3 separate regions of the Homo sapiens genome follow, and all the other regions are linked to region 2. The links are contacts of gene promoters, found by promoter capture Hi-C in blood cells and fetal thymus (Javierre and others, 2016). All regions are on one chromosome and are shown on one strand. Each heading gives the region's core, a stretch centred on a gene start or on the middle of the fragment in contact. The rest is flanking DNA. Distances are from core to core; before and after follow the strand shown.

What was found. The method cuts DNA at HindIII sites, captures the fragments that hold promoters and counts their contacts. A CHiCAGO score of 5 or more calls a contact.
Region 1: a contact is called between the fragment with the promoter of MYH7 here and a fragment that was not itself captured in region 2, in 1 of 17 cell types (M0 macrophages). The highest score is 5.0, in M0 macrophages.
Region 3: a contact is called between the fragment with the promoter of NGDN here and a fragment that was not itself captured in region 2, in 1 of 17 cell types (total CD8 T cells). The highest score is 7.1, in total CD8 T cells.

What each region holds. Positions count from the first base shown.
Region 1 is chr14:23,434,017-23,438,892 of GRCh38, reverse strand. It overlaps MYH7 (myosin heavy chain 7), which reads left to right and starts at 3,233. Exons shown (of 40, transcript NM_000257.4): 1 at 3,233-3,273; 2 at 4,644-4,699. RefSeq lists enhancers at 258-758, 1-1,515, 2,536-3,373. The HindIII fragment of the contact is 1,386 bases long and covers 1,969-3,354 here.
Region 2 is chr14:23,936,383-23,940,881 of GRCh38, reverse strand. It overlaps DHRS4-AS1 (DHRS4 antisense RNA 1), which reads left to right. Exons shown (of 2, transcript NR_023922.2): 2 at 1-2,151. Among named protein-coding and RNA genes, the nearest start is that of DHRS4, 15 kb to the left of the region's middle. The HindIII fragment of the contact is 885 bases long and covers 2,622-3,506 here.
Region 3 is chr14:23,467,791-23,472,682 of GRCh38, reverse strand. NGDN (neuroguidin) reads right to left here and starts at 2,980. Exons shown (of 11, transcript NM_001042635.2): 1 at 2,956-2,980; 2 at 2,582-2,641; 3 at 1,706-1,777. The coding sequence starts at 2,967. RefSeq lists an enhancer at 2,277-3,217 and a silencer at 3,304-3,353. The HindIII fragment of the contact is 20,849 bases long and covers 1-4,892 here.

The DNA of each region.
Region 1 (4,876 bases), core at 1,984-4,483, 500 kb after region 2:
TCAGAAAGCAGAGACCTAGAGTAGGGAATGAGAGGGGGTGCACAAGTACAAAAGATTTTGAAGCCAGCAGGAAGACAAAAGAATGACAAGAAGGAGCAGCTGTTTGTAAAGGGAAATCTGAGACAGGCAGAAAGCTCAGCTCCCTAATCCTAGGCTCGTGTGGAGCCAGGGCAGGGTCCCCCCAAGGTCAGGGATTCTGGGGGCAGGCGGATGGGAGAGTCAGCCTCCACTCCTGGGTGGCTCCCCTCTGCCCTGTGCACAAACAACGAGTGCCTCATTCCTCCCCTGCACCAAGTGCCCTGCCTCTTCCTGCCCCGTTTCTTCCTTCCCTTTGGGTACCGGAGCTTTTTTCTGATTCCCCTCTCTCCATGCTGACATCGCTTCTAATTCGCCCTGGTGTCTCCCTCCCTCACAATTACTGGGAGTAATTTTAGCAACTTTTCCTCTGAACTACCGCTGGCGTGTTCACAGCAAATGGCCCCTGTTTTGGCTTGACACTTGATCAGGGTGGTGACAGAGTGCAGACAAAGCCGGCACAATGCGGGGAGGGGAGGACGGGGGACAGATCACCTTCCTTTCACTTCAGGCCTTATTTGGTCTACCTTGCCGAAGCGGCCCTCCTTCCAGCCTCTCTTTATTTATAGCATTTTGCTTTGCTCTCCTTTATCTTGCTATCACTTTGTAGCACACTCTGCACAATCCCCACCCACCCCAGCATGGTGGGGCCCCTGGCCCCTCACTCTCCCCACAAGGAATGTGCATGTGTGCAAAGGGTAGGCCTGGATGCCATTTCTACAAACAGTTGACTAAAGCAGTCCAGAGCAGGGATCTTTCTTTGGGTCATTGTTATGTCCTTATTGACCAGAATAATGCCTGGCACATAGTAGGCACTCAATAAATACTTGTTGAATGGAGGAATCTGCAAAGCTGCTCAGTCTTCAGACAGCAGCAAGCAGCAGGAAGAGAATCATGATGTAACCAAGAGCAGGTGCTGGAGGAGCTAGGGAGTGAGTGGGGATCTTTAAGGACAGCAGGCCCTCTGATCTGTCTGAGCTGTGAGGCAAAGCCTAGTTAGGGAGGTGAGTTCTATCTGCAATGAGAGGGGGCATGGGTGGAGAACAGTAACACCCAAACACCAACAGACCAGAGCCTCCCAAACCCGAAAGGAGAGAAACAAAGTGTGATTGATTTCCCAAATGCAGAAAAGACTACCCAAGTCCCCAGCCAAGGAAGGACGCTGGCCTGTGGTGAAGACACTGGCTTTGAAATGGCTCAACTACGTCCCAAGCACCCTTTGTGCATCTTAATTGCCCTGGGAAATCAGGGAGGGGTGGCAGTTTGGAGCTTGGAAAGCTGGAAGGTGGGGACGAAAGGAGTTTTTGCCCCTCATCGCCAATCCTTGAGGTTCCTACAGGGAACCTCAGACAACAGCTGTCTTAGGGGTTTCCTTCCAGCTCCAAGCAGCTGTATTATCTATAGCTTTGAGAGGGTCTGTCTCTGTCAATGGGGCTGATTCCTCAGCACCTGGCAGGGCCTGGGGGGGACTGCCAGAGTCTGTTCTGCCGGGCATGTTAGTAGCACAGACTACTGGGATAACCTCAGCAACTGTATACCTTAGCACTGCAGAGCTGCGGTGTTGTCAGACACAGCCCTTGCAGTTCGTGGTCTACCCCCACTTGCCTGCACCCCCCTTATAGCTGCTCAATGTCCTCAGACTGTACCTTAGTGCCTTGGTTACCAAGCAACCCCCACAGAGGCCTCCTCCTGGATTTTCCCTTCCCTGCTATGCCCACCCCACCTTCAAAATGTACCTGCTGCACCCATCCCCCAGGCCTGCCTCACTCCTTCCAAGCTGACAGCTAATCAGATGGACTAATCCGCATGCGCGGAAGAGCTGTGCTTGGGAAGAAGGGGGAGATTTCACACCAAATCGTGCAGTGGTTGCCTAGACACGGAGCCAGTCAAGCTTGCATGCCCCGTTGCTAGAAGAGCATGGCATCGGTTGTGTTCTGTGCTCGTAGGCTGGGCCCCAGCTCCCTTTCCTCCCCTCCTTTGTGGCTGTTCCTCAGGCCTGCAGAGGGGAAGATTTTTCCTGTCCTGTTACTCTGCCTCACTTGCCAGAACACTAGTCGCCTCCAGCTCTGGATAAAGCTGAGGCTGGGTGGGCCAGACAACAGCTGTCTTAGGGGTCTCCTTCCAGCTCCAAGTAGTTGTATTATCTATAGCTCTGAGAGGGTCTGTCTCTGGGCTCAGGCCTTTAGTACCTGTGGGGCAGAGCCAGGAACGTGAGTCAGGCAAACCGCTCCAAACTAGGACCAATGCAGCTGGGTCCTGCTCTCTGCGCATAGGGGGTCCCCACATCTTTGGAATCCCAGCCCACCTTTCCAGGCTACCCTCCACAGGCCGGGCTCCACTCCCATCTGCTGAGGTTTCCCACCTTGAATCCTGCTGCCCCGATTAGCTGTATAACCTTAAAGAATGCACTGTCCCTCTCCATTAAATGAAGTGCTTGGATGGATTGCTAAAGGCCTGTCTGGCTCGGAGGCTTGGTGACCTCAACACATTGCCTGCTGGTCCAAGGAAATCAGTGCCTGAGCCAGAGTCCCCATCTCTAAGCTCCATGGTTATTGTTCTTGCCACCTGGCTAGGAAATGTCCTTCCAGCTGCCCCAGTCTAGCTGCCTCACCCTGGGGCCATGCCCCCAACTCTGTCCTACCCTTCTCTGCTGCTGACACTCAGCCCCTTCCCAGCTTCCAGTTGGATACAGGACCTGGGCCAGGAGAGCAGGGAGGACACTGTGGAAATGCGGCCAGGCCATCAGGGGCCTCGCAGCAGGGGACTGGAGGGGGAGCAGTGTCCAGGGCCAGAAGTGCCCTGCGGGAGAGCCAGGACATTGGCTGCCTGTGGTCTTGGTGGTCGTGGTCAGTTCCCTCTCCTGCCAGCTGTGGAATGTGAGGCCTGGCCTGGGAGATATTTTTGCTGCACTTTGAGCCACCCCGCCCCCTGGAACTCAGACCCTGCACAGTCCATGCCATAACAATGACGACCACTTCCAATTGTTTCCTAGCTGGAGAGGCGGGGAGGGGAGCACTGTTTGGGAAGGGGGGGAGCCTGGGGGAAATGCTTCTAGTGACAACAGCCCTTTCTAAATCCGGCTAGGGACTGGGTGCCGTTGGGGGTGGGGGTGCCCTGCTGCCCCATATATACAGCCCCTGAGACCAGGTCTGGCTCCACAGCTCTGTCCTGCTCTGTGTCTTTCCCTGCTGCTCTCAGGTAGGAGCGGGAGCTGGAGGCTTTACTCTGGGATAAGGGGGCTCCAGGCTTAGGAAGGGATTCCTCTTGGAATAGCAAGCTTCATGCAGGACTTCATGCAGAGTACCAGGTCCAGTCACTGGGCACACATGTGCAGGTCTAAACATGGGCGTATGTGCCACAGGAGTTCCTAGGGGAAGATATCTGCATCTGAGCATATGGGACCAATATGCATTACAGGGTGTGTGTGTGTGTGTGTGTGTGTGTGTGTGTGTGGACAAGCCTGCATAGTCTGAATGTGAGAAAGGGTATGTACCTCACTGACTGATACAGAAATATCAAGTGGGAGATGTGGGTGTATGATCACGTCTGTGAACGAGGAGGTTCCTTTGCAGGGAGGGAGAAAGAATGGTGGAGAAGGATTCTAGGAAGTGTGTATGCCTTCATGTGATTCTGTGAGGCCTGGAATGTGTAGCTACCCCTGTCCATGCATGCAGAGGTTCTTGTCTATGCCTCCACGAGTCATGACTGTTATAGTATCTGTACCCTCTGCAGAAGGAACTCACAGGCACGGGGGTGTAGGATGTTCCAGGTCTTTGTGTACTGAAGAACACGCAGTGATGTGATCTACTTACGTGGCACACATCCTGAAATGTGCACATTTGCTGTTGAGGCATATATGGCACCCTGGGGTTGGGGTGCGGATTGAGGTATGGGAAGGAAGCCTGTCTTCATGTGAGAGGCATGCCCAAGCAGCAGGCATGAGTGTTCATCAGAGGGCTTGTGGAGGGTGTTTGGCTATGTGATGGGTGTGTCTGTGAGAGGAAGCCCACAGTGTCTTCTCTCTGAGAATGTCCACAAAGTCTGACAACAAAATGGGGACAGGATGGAAAAGAAGTCTCTTTAGAGTCATCAGACTTGCATTCAAGTCTTGGCTCTCCCACTTGTTGTCATGGGCTCTTGGCCAAGCAAGCCATTTAACCTCGATTTCCTCATCTGTCAAATGGGGTGAAGACTGAGTAGGAGAAAGTGCATTGAAGTGCTTTTAGACTGGAAAGTGCCGAACAAATGTGACCATTAGTTGTCTCTCAGATGGCTCAAAGAAAGGTACCACTAGATGGGTACAGGCAGGGGTGGGACCATCTCGCAGGAGTGAAGAGGATTAGGGTTCAGGTTGAGTTGACACCAGGAAGCTGTTAGAACTAGTTCTTGAGGAAAAAGGGAATAGGGTTTGAAAAACAAGAAGGATGGGACCAGAGAAGCTGACCACCCTTTCCACCTTGTTTTGGAAGAGGGTGGATGCTGAAGAACAGAGCCAGGGAGAAGCAGGAAGGTGGGACTGGTCAGGTTGGGCACAGCCTGCCCTGACACAGCCTCTTCCCTCTCTCCAGGTCCCCTGCAGGCCTTGGCCCCTTTCCTCATCTGTAGACACACTTGAGTAGCCCAGGTAAGAAAAGCTGAAGCTAGAGTGTTGAAAATCTAGTAAGACTGGGCATTAGAGCCCCAAAGCCAGCCTATGGAACTCTAGTTTCTGCCATGTGCTGGAGAGAATATCTTGGCTATCAAGAGCTACTTACCTGTGACCAGGGGGTCCAGGGATAGATGAGGGTCAGAGATGGAAATA
Region 2 (4,499 bases), core at 1,815-4,314:
GCTGGTGGAGCACATCGAGTTCTGGAGGTTCATGTGTGTTTTCATGAAGATCTGTCTGCCCGTAGCAGATAAAGAGTTGTTGCCCCACTCCTCCTGGGGTCTTCTATTTTCCTGGGAGGAATTTCTGGATTAACTGAACACACACACACACACACACACCCTTTTGAAGCATCAACAGTAATTCTGAGTTCTTAGGGACAATGCAGATTAAATCCACAATAAGAAAGACAACTATGGCCAGGTGTGGTGGCTCACGCCTGTAATCCCAGAACTTTGGGAGGCTGAGGCGGATGGATCACCTGAGGTCAGGAGTTAGAGACCAACCTGACCAACATGGAGAAACCCCGTTTCTACTAAAAATGCAAAATTAGCCGGGCATGGTGGCAGGCGCCTGTAATCCCAAATACTCGGGAGGCTGAGGCAGGAGAATCACTTAAACCCGGGAGGCAGAGGTTGCAGTGAGCCAAGATCGCGCCATTGCACTCCAGCCTGGGCAAGAAGAGCAAAACTCCATCTCAAAAAAAAAAAAAGAGTACTATTGATCCAGAGGTGACCAGACTAGCCTCACTGGAGATAATAGGTGACATTATTATGCAAAGTGGTTTCAGTTCCCTTGTCTTGTTTTTGGAATAGTATAAGAGGCCTACAATACGAATAAATAAGGCCCATCACAAGCCTCACCAAAGGACAAAACTAATCCACTTCTGAAGAAGGCTCTTTGTTGGGCCAGATCAAATCCTTGGACAGAACTGTACTCTTAATCTCTGTAGTGAAAGTGGGGGGTAGTTTAAGAATTTATTAACCTTCTACCTTGAGCAATCCCTCAGAAGTAAGAGGTGTCAGGCCTCTGAGCCGAAGCTCAGCCATTGTAACCCCTGTGACCTGCACATATATGTCCAGATGGCCTGCAGGAGCCAAGAAGTCTGGGGCAGCTGAAAAACCACACAAGAAGTAAAACAGCCAGTTCCTGCCTTAACTGATTAACCAACATTACAACATTCCACCATTGTGACCTGTCCCTGTCCTACCTTAACTGATCAATCGACCTTGTGACAGTCTTCTTCTGGACAATGGGTCTTATCATCTCCCCACCATGTACCTTGTGACCCCCTCCTCTGCTAACAATAGATAACCACTTTTTACTGTAATTTTCCATTACCTACCCAACTCCTATAAAGCAACCCCTTCCCCATCTCCCTTCACTGACTCTGTTTTCAGACTCAGCCCACTTGCACTCAAGTGAATAAACAGCCTTGTTGCTCACACAAAGCCTGTTGGTGGTCTCTTCACACAGATGTGCTTGACAAAAGGGAAGGGTGGATTTGTCCTTCTGGTTACATATGTTCTGCTCACTCATTTTGAATTTAATTAAACAAGGATTGCCCTTACCTTTTCATACTTTGTAAGAAACCATAAATACTTATGCACCATGATTTTTTTAAAGAAACACTTTTTATTTTGAAGTAATTATAGTCTCATAGGAAGTTGCAAAAGTAGTACATAGAGTCCCTGAGTACTCTTCCCCCAGTGGTGACAACTGTAGTATAATATCAATTCTGGGAAATTGACATTGGTACAATACCAAATATACTATGCCTTTTTCTCTAAGGCATGATGTTGCAGTAGCATCCTTGTACATGTAGCTAGGAGAACTTGTACTAAGCCCAGATAAATAGTTGAAGTACAAGGGCAAGGAGTGTGTCTTTGATATTTTAATAGAAATCACCTATTGCCCTCTAGAAAAGCTGTACCCTTTTCCAGTGGCAGAGAACCTTCCTGAAAGGCAGTCCTGTGTAATGGTGTCCATTTCATCACACCCTTAAAACACTCAGCTTTAACAAACATGCAGATTTTTGCTGATGTGGGAGAAAATATTAATTATTAATGATATTAAGGTGATTATCTTTTCGTATGTTTATAGATATTTGTATTTCTTTTTAAATGAACTGCTCATGACCTTTGTCTACTTTTATTTGGGTTTACTTCTTTCTCATTTATTCCTATAAACTCTTTATAAAAGGAAATTAACCATTTGATTGTCATATGTTGTGAATATTTTTACCATTTTGACTTTTGAATTTATGTCTTTTTAATGAATTGTAGAAGTTTAAAATCTTTATGGAATAAATTTATTTAGTTTTTTGTTTATGGCTTCTGAGTTTTGTGTCATGATTAGAAAGGCCTTTCTTACTCCAAAAGTATAAGATATTCAATTATAAGATTTCCTGTAGTTATTCAATGTGTGTGTATGTATGTTTAAATCTTTTGGCCATCTGATATTTGTGCTTGTGTGGGAAGTGAGATAGAAATCCGGGTTAGTTTTTTTCCCAAATGGTTAACCAGTTGTCTCAGCACTGTCTGAGTAACTCTTCCATGCCTTGGTTTCTTTATCATTACCATATGTATTTGAGCCTATTTCTGGACTCTAGTTCATTTTATTGATTTGTCTGTCTGTTCCCAAGTCAGGATTTTAATAGATATTGCAAAGAGGAAAAAGAAAGTGCTAAAATTGCCATAAAATAACTTCAAATAGAAGAGTATGGCAGTTCAGAGGTGGGAGAGAGTATTTTTAGTTGGGGTCTGAAAAAGCTTCATGAAAGAGGGACATTTAAGGTGAAGCTTGAATGACGAGCACTACGTTGGGCAAAGGGAATAAAGAACAAAGTCATGGAGGTGGTAAATATTTGTGCACATTTGCATCGTGTCTCTGCGAAGGAACTCATGCTCCACCACTGGTGTTTTTATGCATGCGTGTCTTGAGCACAGTTAAGAGGATAAAGAAATTTTCATGTTACTCTTTTGAGGCATTTTGAGGACACATTTATTAATCATAATGGCTACACGTTGAATACCTACTGTTATCCCATAGACATAGGGGTATCTATGTCATTTTTAATTTTCACCACAATGAGCAAAGTTGATATTCCCATTTTAGAAATGAGGAAAATGCCTCAGGCAGTTTAAATAACACCTAAAAGTGGCTGGATTGAGATTAAAATGGATGACCAGCAATTTAAAAAATCAGAATAGAAAATACCACAATTCATCACCTATGGTTAGGGTGTTTGTAGCAGAAGCTGTTCCTGCTCCACCTACGTCACCTGGGATCCCTCTGCTATCTCTGTGTAGACCAGTTGAATCCCAGTGTGCATTCTTTCCCAAAAGCCAGCATACTGTTGGAAGGTACAAGAGAGCCAGAAGTGCCTGGGAATTTATGTCCCTTCCCTCCCCTCATGCCTTTAACCAATGACTGATGGGGGTGGGGATAGACATACTCTAGCTCTTTTGCCCTCTCACTGGATGACTGAGGTGTGACCTATGATGTTCCCCAAGCCCTCTGAGGGAATGTATCAAAATTGCCTTCCATGGGACTTGGCTTGATGTTGTACCCTTACTTGGCCCCTTTCTACTCCTACTTTCTCCCATATGTCTTTTCTCTGGGAATAGTTCCTAATAAATCACTTTCATGTTCATCTTCCTCTAGGGCAGCACTGCTTTAAGAAGCTTCTGTTGTAGTGATGTAGGAGAGAGAGAGAGAGAGAGAGAGAGAGAGTGTGTGTGTGTGTGTGTGTGTGTGTGTGCGCATGCATTCCGTTATCATTTAACATGTATTTCTTAGTGTGGAGCCAGTTTGAAAGCTCTATACTGGCTGTTCTATACTACATTAAACTGCCTGTTTGGGTATAGTTCACTGAGCTGGAAATTCTTCTTGATGCCCCCAAATAAGCACTGCAGATCAGATTCCAAATCTTATTGCTTATTTGAGTACAGTGACTTAAAATACGTTAATAAAAATCTAGGCTGGACACGGTGGCTTACATCTGTAATCCCAGGACTTTGGGAGGCCAAGGTGGGTGGGTCACTTGAGGTCAGGAGTTTGAGACTAGGTTGACCAATGTGGCAAAACCCCATCTCTACCAAAAAAAAAAAAATACAAAAAAATTAGCTGGGTCTGCTGGCATGTGCTTGTAGTCCCAGCTACTCAGGAGGCTGAGGCAGGAGAATAGCTTGGACCTGGGAGGCAGAGGTTGCCGTGAGCTGAGATCGGGCCGCTACAGTCCAGCCTGGGTGACAGAGCAAGGCTCCATCTCAAAAACAACAACAACAACAACAAACAACAACAACAACAACAAGTGTTAGTTATGGCTGTAAAGAACACAGTCAATTTTGATACTATTGGCTAGGCTGGTCTTTGACTTCTTGGGCAGCCAACCCTACTAAACAGTTTCCAAAGTTCAGGCTTCCCTTTGCCAAAGTTGATAAGTGTGGTGTAAAGGTCATGTTAGTTGAGTGTTAATTTTTTTGCAGACTAGCAGAAACGAGAAGACCAGGTTTGCCTTGTAGCAGAGCCAGAAGGTGTGCCTGACCACAGGGCAGGATAGTCATGCCAGGACTCTGACCCTCAGCTTGGCTTAGATGGAGAGAGGCAAGGTGTACAGAATTGCTTTGCATTTACCCCCAAAGACAAGGTAGTTAAAAGAAGGGAAGATAACACACCA
Region 3 (4,892 bases), core at 1,731-4,230, 470 kb after region 2:
AAATATCTTAGGACAAAAGCTCAATATATAAAAACAGATAATACCAGAGTTTTCCAGTTAAGTAGGGATGAGAGATCCAGAGTTGTTCTTCCACATTGCCCCCAACCAGTAATCCCTGAGAAGGTTCTACCAGACCTTCATTTGAAAACTACAATATTTTAATTGTTGTTGTTTTGTTTTTTTCAGATGGAGTCTTGCTCTGCTGCCCAGGCTGCAGCACAGTGGCATGATCACGGCTCACTGCAACCTCTGCCTCCTGAGTTCAAACAATTCTCCTGCCTCAGCCTCCCGAGTAACCGGGATTACAGACAGGCACACGCCACCATGCCCGGCTAATTTTTGTATTTTTAGTAAAGATGGGGTTTTGCCATGTTGACCAGGCTGGTCTCGAACTCCTGACCTCAGGTGATCCATCCGCCACAATCTCCCAAAGTGCTGGAATTATAGGTGTGAGCCACCTTTTCTTCTTAGCCTGGCCTTTTTTTTTTTTTTTTTTTTTTAAGACAGTCTCACTCTGTTGCCCAGGCTGCAGTGCGATGGTGCGACCGTGGCTCATGGCAGCCTCGACCTCCTGGGCTCAACCGATCCATTCACCTCAGCCTCCTGAGTAGCTGGGACTACAGGCACACACCACTGCGCCCAGCTAATTTTTTTTTATAGAGATAGGTCTCACCACATTGCCCAGGCTGGTCTCAAACCCATGGGCTCAAGCAATCCTCCCACTCTGGCCTCCCAAAGTGTTGGGATTACAGGCGCATATTTCAATTTTAAGATGCACATGGTTTTCATATTTTAACATCTCTGAAATCAGGATGCATGTTTCAGTCACTGGCATCTTGGTATTATGTCATAAGCAATTTTTTTTTTTTTTTTGAGACAGGGTCTTGCTCTGTCACCCAGGCTGAATGCAGTGGCACAATCACAGCTTACTGCAGCCTCAACCTCCCAGGCTTAAGCAATCCTCTGGCCTCAGCCTCCTGAGTGGCTAGGACTACAGGCACATGCCATCATGCCCGGCTAATTTTTAACTTTTGTAGGGTCTCACTATGTTACCCAGGTTGGTCCCGAACTCCTGAGCTCAAGCGATCCTCCAGCCTCAGCCTCCTGAAGTGCTGGAATTACAGGCATGAGCCACCATGCCCGGCCTGTCACATTTTTTCTTAATATATACAATAAGTGATATGTCCCAATTAATAAGTGTCTTAGATTAGATGAAATCTGAAAGTAACTCCTCAGTTGGCCTACAGTAATCTTCAGAGTGACTTTTCCAGTCTTATTTCCTACCCCCAACACACATAACACAGAAAGTACATCCTATCACAAAAATGACTTACTCCTTTCCCTTATCACCATACTTTCAGGCCTTTGTGCCTTTGCACATGTTCCTTCTTTCTGTCCCTCCCATTTATTCCTCAAAATCCTATCACCTCCTCTGGGAAGCCTGTCCTGAATCCCTCTGCTCTTCTGGCAGTTAATTAATCCCTCTCTTTGGCTGGAGACTCATAACTCTGTAATGTGACTGCTACTATTAATACTTACATCTATTGCTTTGCTTTGTCTTCCCTCTAGACTTCAGCACAGAAACTGGATCATATTTATGTTTGAAGCTCGAGCACTTAGGATATATAAGACACAATAAACATACAATGAAAGAACTACTGAGAACATTAAGTCAGGGGATGCTTACTGTTTGAGTACATCTTACCTTTTCTGTAGGATAGGCACCAGCTTGAACTTTTTGTGTCAGTGATTTCACTTGTGCAGTTACAGCCATCACCTGAAATTAGCCCAAATAAAACAAGTGATTAGATTATATCAAATTATGTCTGCAAACTGTGAAGAGCAAAAGCTAAACAATGCCACCTAAAAATTATCTGAAACACTGTCTAAAGTATAGTACTATCTTCTCACTTCTCGGAAAGCATAGGAGAGATGGTTCTTCAAAAAGTTTAAAAAAAAAAAAACTTTCCACTTCTTAAAGAAGAGACCATCTTTTACTGAACCACAGGGAGGAGAAAAGGACTGAGAGAGTAGTGACTGAAGCACTGTAATTTTGTTTGTACTAGTTGAACTTACAATGCATAGAACTACATAACTCCCCGACTTATGACTTAATTTCCACTTTACGAGGGTGTAAAAGAAATATGCATTCGGTAGAAACCGTCCTTTTCTCGTGATGCTGGGCAGCGGCATCAAGCCTAAATTTCGACTTATGAGGTTTTCGAATTACAATGGGTTTATCAGGCCATAACCTCCATCGTTAAGTCGAGAAGCATCTGTATATAAGTGTGTATTACCTGGGCACCCAAAGGGCAAGTCATGTTACCATTCCAAGCACTGGTTTCCTTAGCTATATGAATAAAGGAAAACTATTCATATAATTTCTTTTTGGAGTTTCTTGTATTCCCTTGGGTGCAGAATCAATTACTTAGAATTCTGGCGTGAAAAGGTTTTGATTACATCATTTTACTCTAAGGTTTTTGGAAGCATTCACGTATCTCAATCACCAAAGTTTTGAGGTGAAGTACACAAACTCAAAGCCAATCCGTGACTAATTTATTCCAGAGGCGACACTACTCACTTGCTCCTGGAGATTTTTCAGAAGTGTCACGGCACTTGGCAGGTCGGACTCCAGCACCCCCTACAGAAGGGAGAGGAGGCGTAAAGAAAAGTCATTCTTTCCTCAGGATTATAGGAAAGTGGAACGTCTAGGGTGGGAAACTGCCCTCTCTCCGTCAGACACCCAGACTCGGGGCCTTCACACTCGGGTTCACAGACTCGCCTTAAAGCCAGCCCCTTGGGTTACCGGACAGGAACGGTAACTCTAGGGAGGCCGCCTCCCTGAAGCAACTTTCATCACCACCCTTCCCTGGTACCAACAGTTTGCCTCCAGCCGCTGAAGGCAAAGGACAACTCCACAATAGCTACGCGAGGAAGAAACCACACCAAACTCACCAGCGCCGCCATCTTCGCAAAGCCCACCCCTTCCGGTGTCGTACTTCCTGAGCGCTAAGGGCGACTTGATAGATTTGATAGACAACTGCCGCTTGCAAATCTAAGCCAATACGAATAAGGGCTTTCTCACTTCCGCCCCCAACAGGATAAACGAGAGGAGGAGTCTGATCTGGCCAATGGAATAAAGGAACTGGCTAAATTCGTCAGACTCAGAAAGAGTCGTCAGGACGAAAAAAAGCACTTGGCAAAGAGCGTGTGATTGGTAGACTGAGTAAAATGATTGACGGCAAGCCAATAAGAGACAGTCAAATAATTGATTGACAGTTGGAAGGACCAATAGAAAAAAGGAATTAGCAGAGCGAACTTAGCGCGTATTGGCTCCCGTCTGCCGCAGCACCCAGAGTCTTTTTTCACGGCACTTTTCTTGTAGTGCGTGAACCGGCCGCTAGGTGATGGGCCTTGGCTTGGCTTTGCGGTGTCGACATTGCAGAGCCGCCATTGCTGGCTGCTCATCCAACGGCCACCGCGCCAAATGCCTTACAGACCCGGTGGCCCTGGAATCGATTCTGTAACACTACTCCTTGTGTGACCGTGGACAAGTCACTCGGTCTCTGAGCCTTCTTCATCTGTAAATAAGAGAGCGAGGCTAGAGAAGCCCAGAGCCAGAGTTTAGAAACCGAGTGCGAGGACACCTGCCCTCTTGGTGTGCACTGTGGAGCGCTGAGAAACGGCTCCAATAACGCCCCGACACTCTTCGCTCCTACCAGTTTGGGGACATGAAAAGAATACGTTTTACAAATTGGGGAACGGTTCATATTTACATGACTTACCGCGGTCACACAGGTCTTCAGCAGAACTTGGTTCAAACTCTGGCAGTGCATGTTTCAGTATAACCTGCCTCATCATTACCCAGTGCTTTCAGATGTGTTCTCTCACTCTGGTTTTTCACAAGCTGGTGAAGTAGGTTGGACGGATACTCATTGTTCCCATCCCATGCCTTAGGAAATAAAGCACCGAAAGGGTGAATGATAGTGTATAATTTTTTGTTCACAACTCGTCCAACAGAGCTGGGTCTAGAAATCAGATCTTACCGACTTGAAGCTGTCTTTTGGAATTAAGAATAACACCTGTATCTGGGCAGGTGAGGTAAGGAAATCCTGGTATCTAGATCTTGCTGGATTCAAGAAGGCAGGAGGGTGTTCAGTCCCCACTCCTCTAACATTTAATTTGCTGCTTCAGGCCCACTGTGGAAGCTCAGGATGCTGTTGCAGCATACTTAGTCAATTATCCAGTAGCTTTTGTAATGTTTTATCAAGATTTGTATTATGAAAAGTTTCTATTTCTACATAAATTTTCGGACCTGTCTAATTAGATCAGCAATAAACTTTTCCTTTTCGGGGAATTTGAAATTTAGTTTGTTCATATGCTTTATGATAGCAATGAGAAAACAAATTGCACTGCCATATTTTGGGTTTTTTTGAGACCGAGTCTCGCTCTGTTGCCCAAGCTGGAGTGCAGTGGCGCGATCTCGGCTCACTGCAACCTCCGCCTCCCGGGTTCAAGCGATTCTCCTGTCTCGCCCTCCCGAGTAGCTGGGACTACAGGCACTTGCCACCACGCCCGGCTGATTTTTTTTTTTTTTTTTTTTTTTTTAGTAGAGACAGGGTTTCACCATGTTAGCTAGGATGGTCTCGATCTCCTGACCTCATGATCCACCCGCCTCAGCCTCCCAAAGTGCTGGGATTACAGGCGTAAGCCACCGCGCCCGGCCTTTTTTTTTTTTTTTTTTTTTGAGCGGAGTCTCATACTGTTGCCCAAGCTGGAGTGCAGTGCCGCGATCTTGGCTCACTGCAACCTCTGCCTCCCTGTTCAAGCGATTCTCCTGCCTCAGCCTCCTGAGTAGCTGGGATTACAGGCACCCGCCACCATATCCAGCT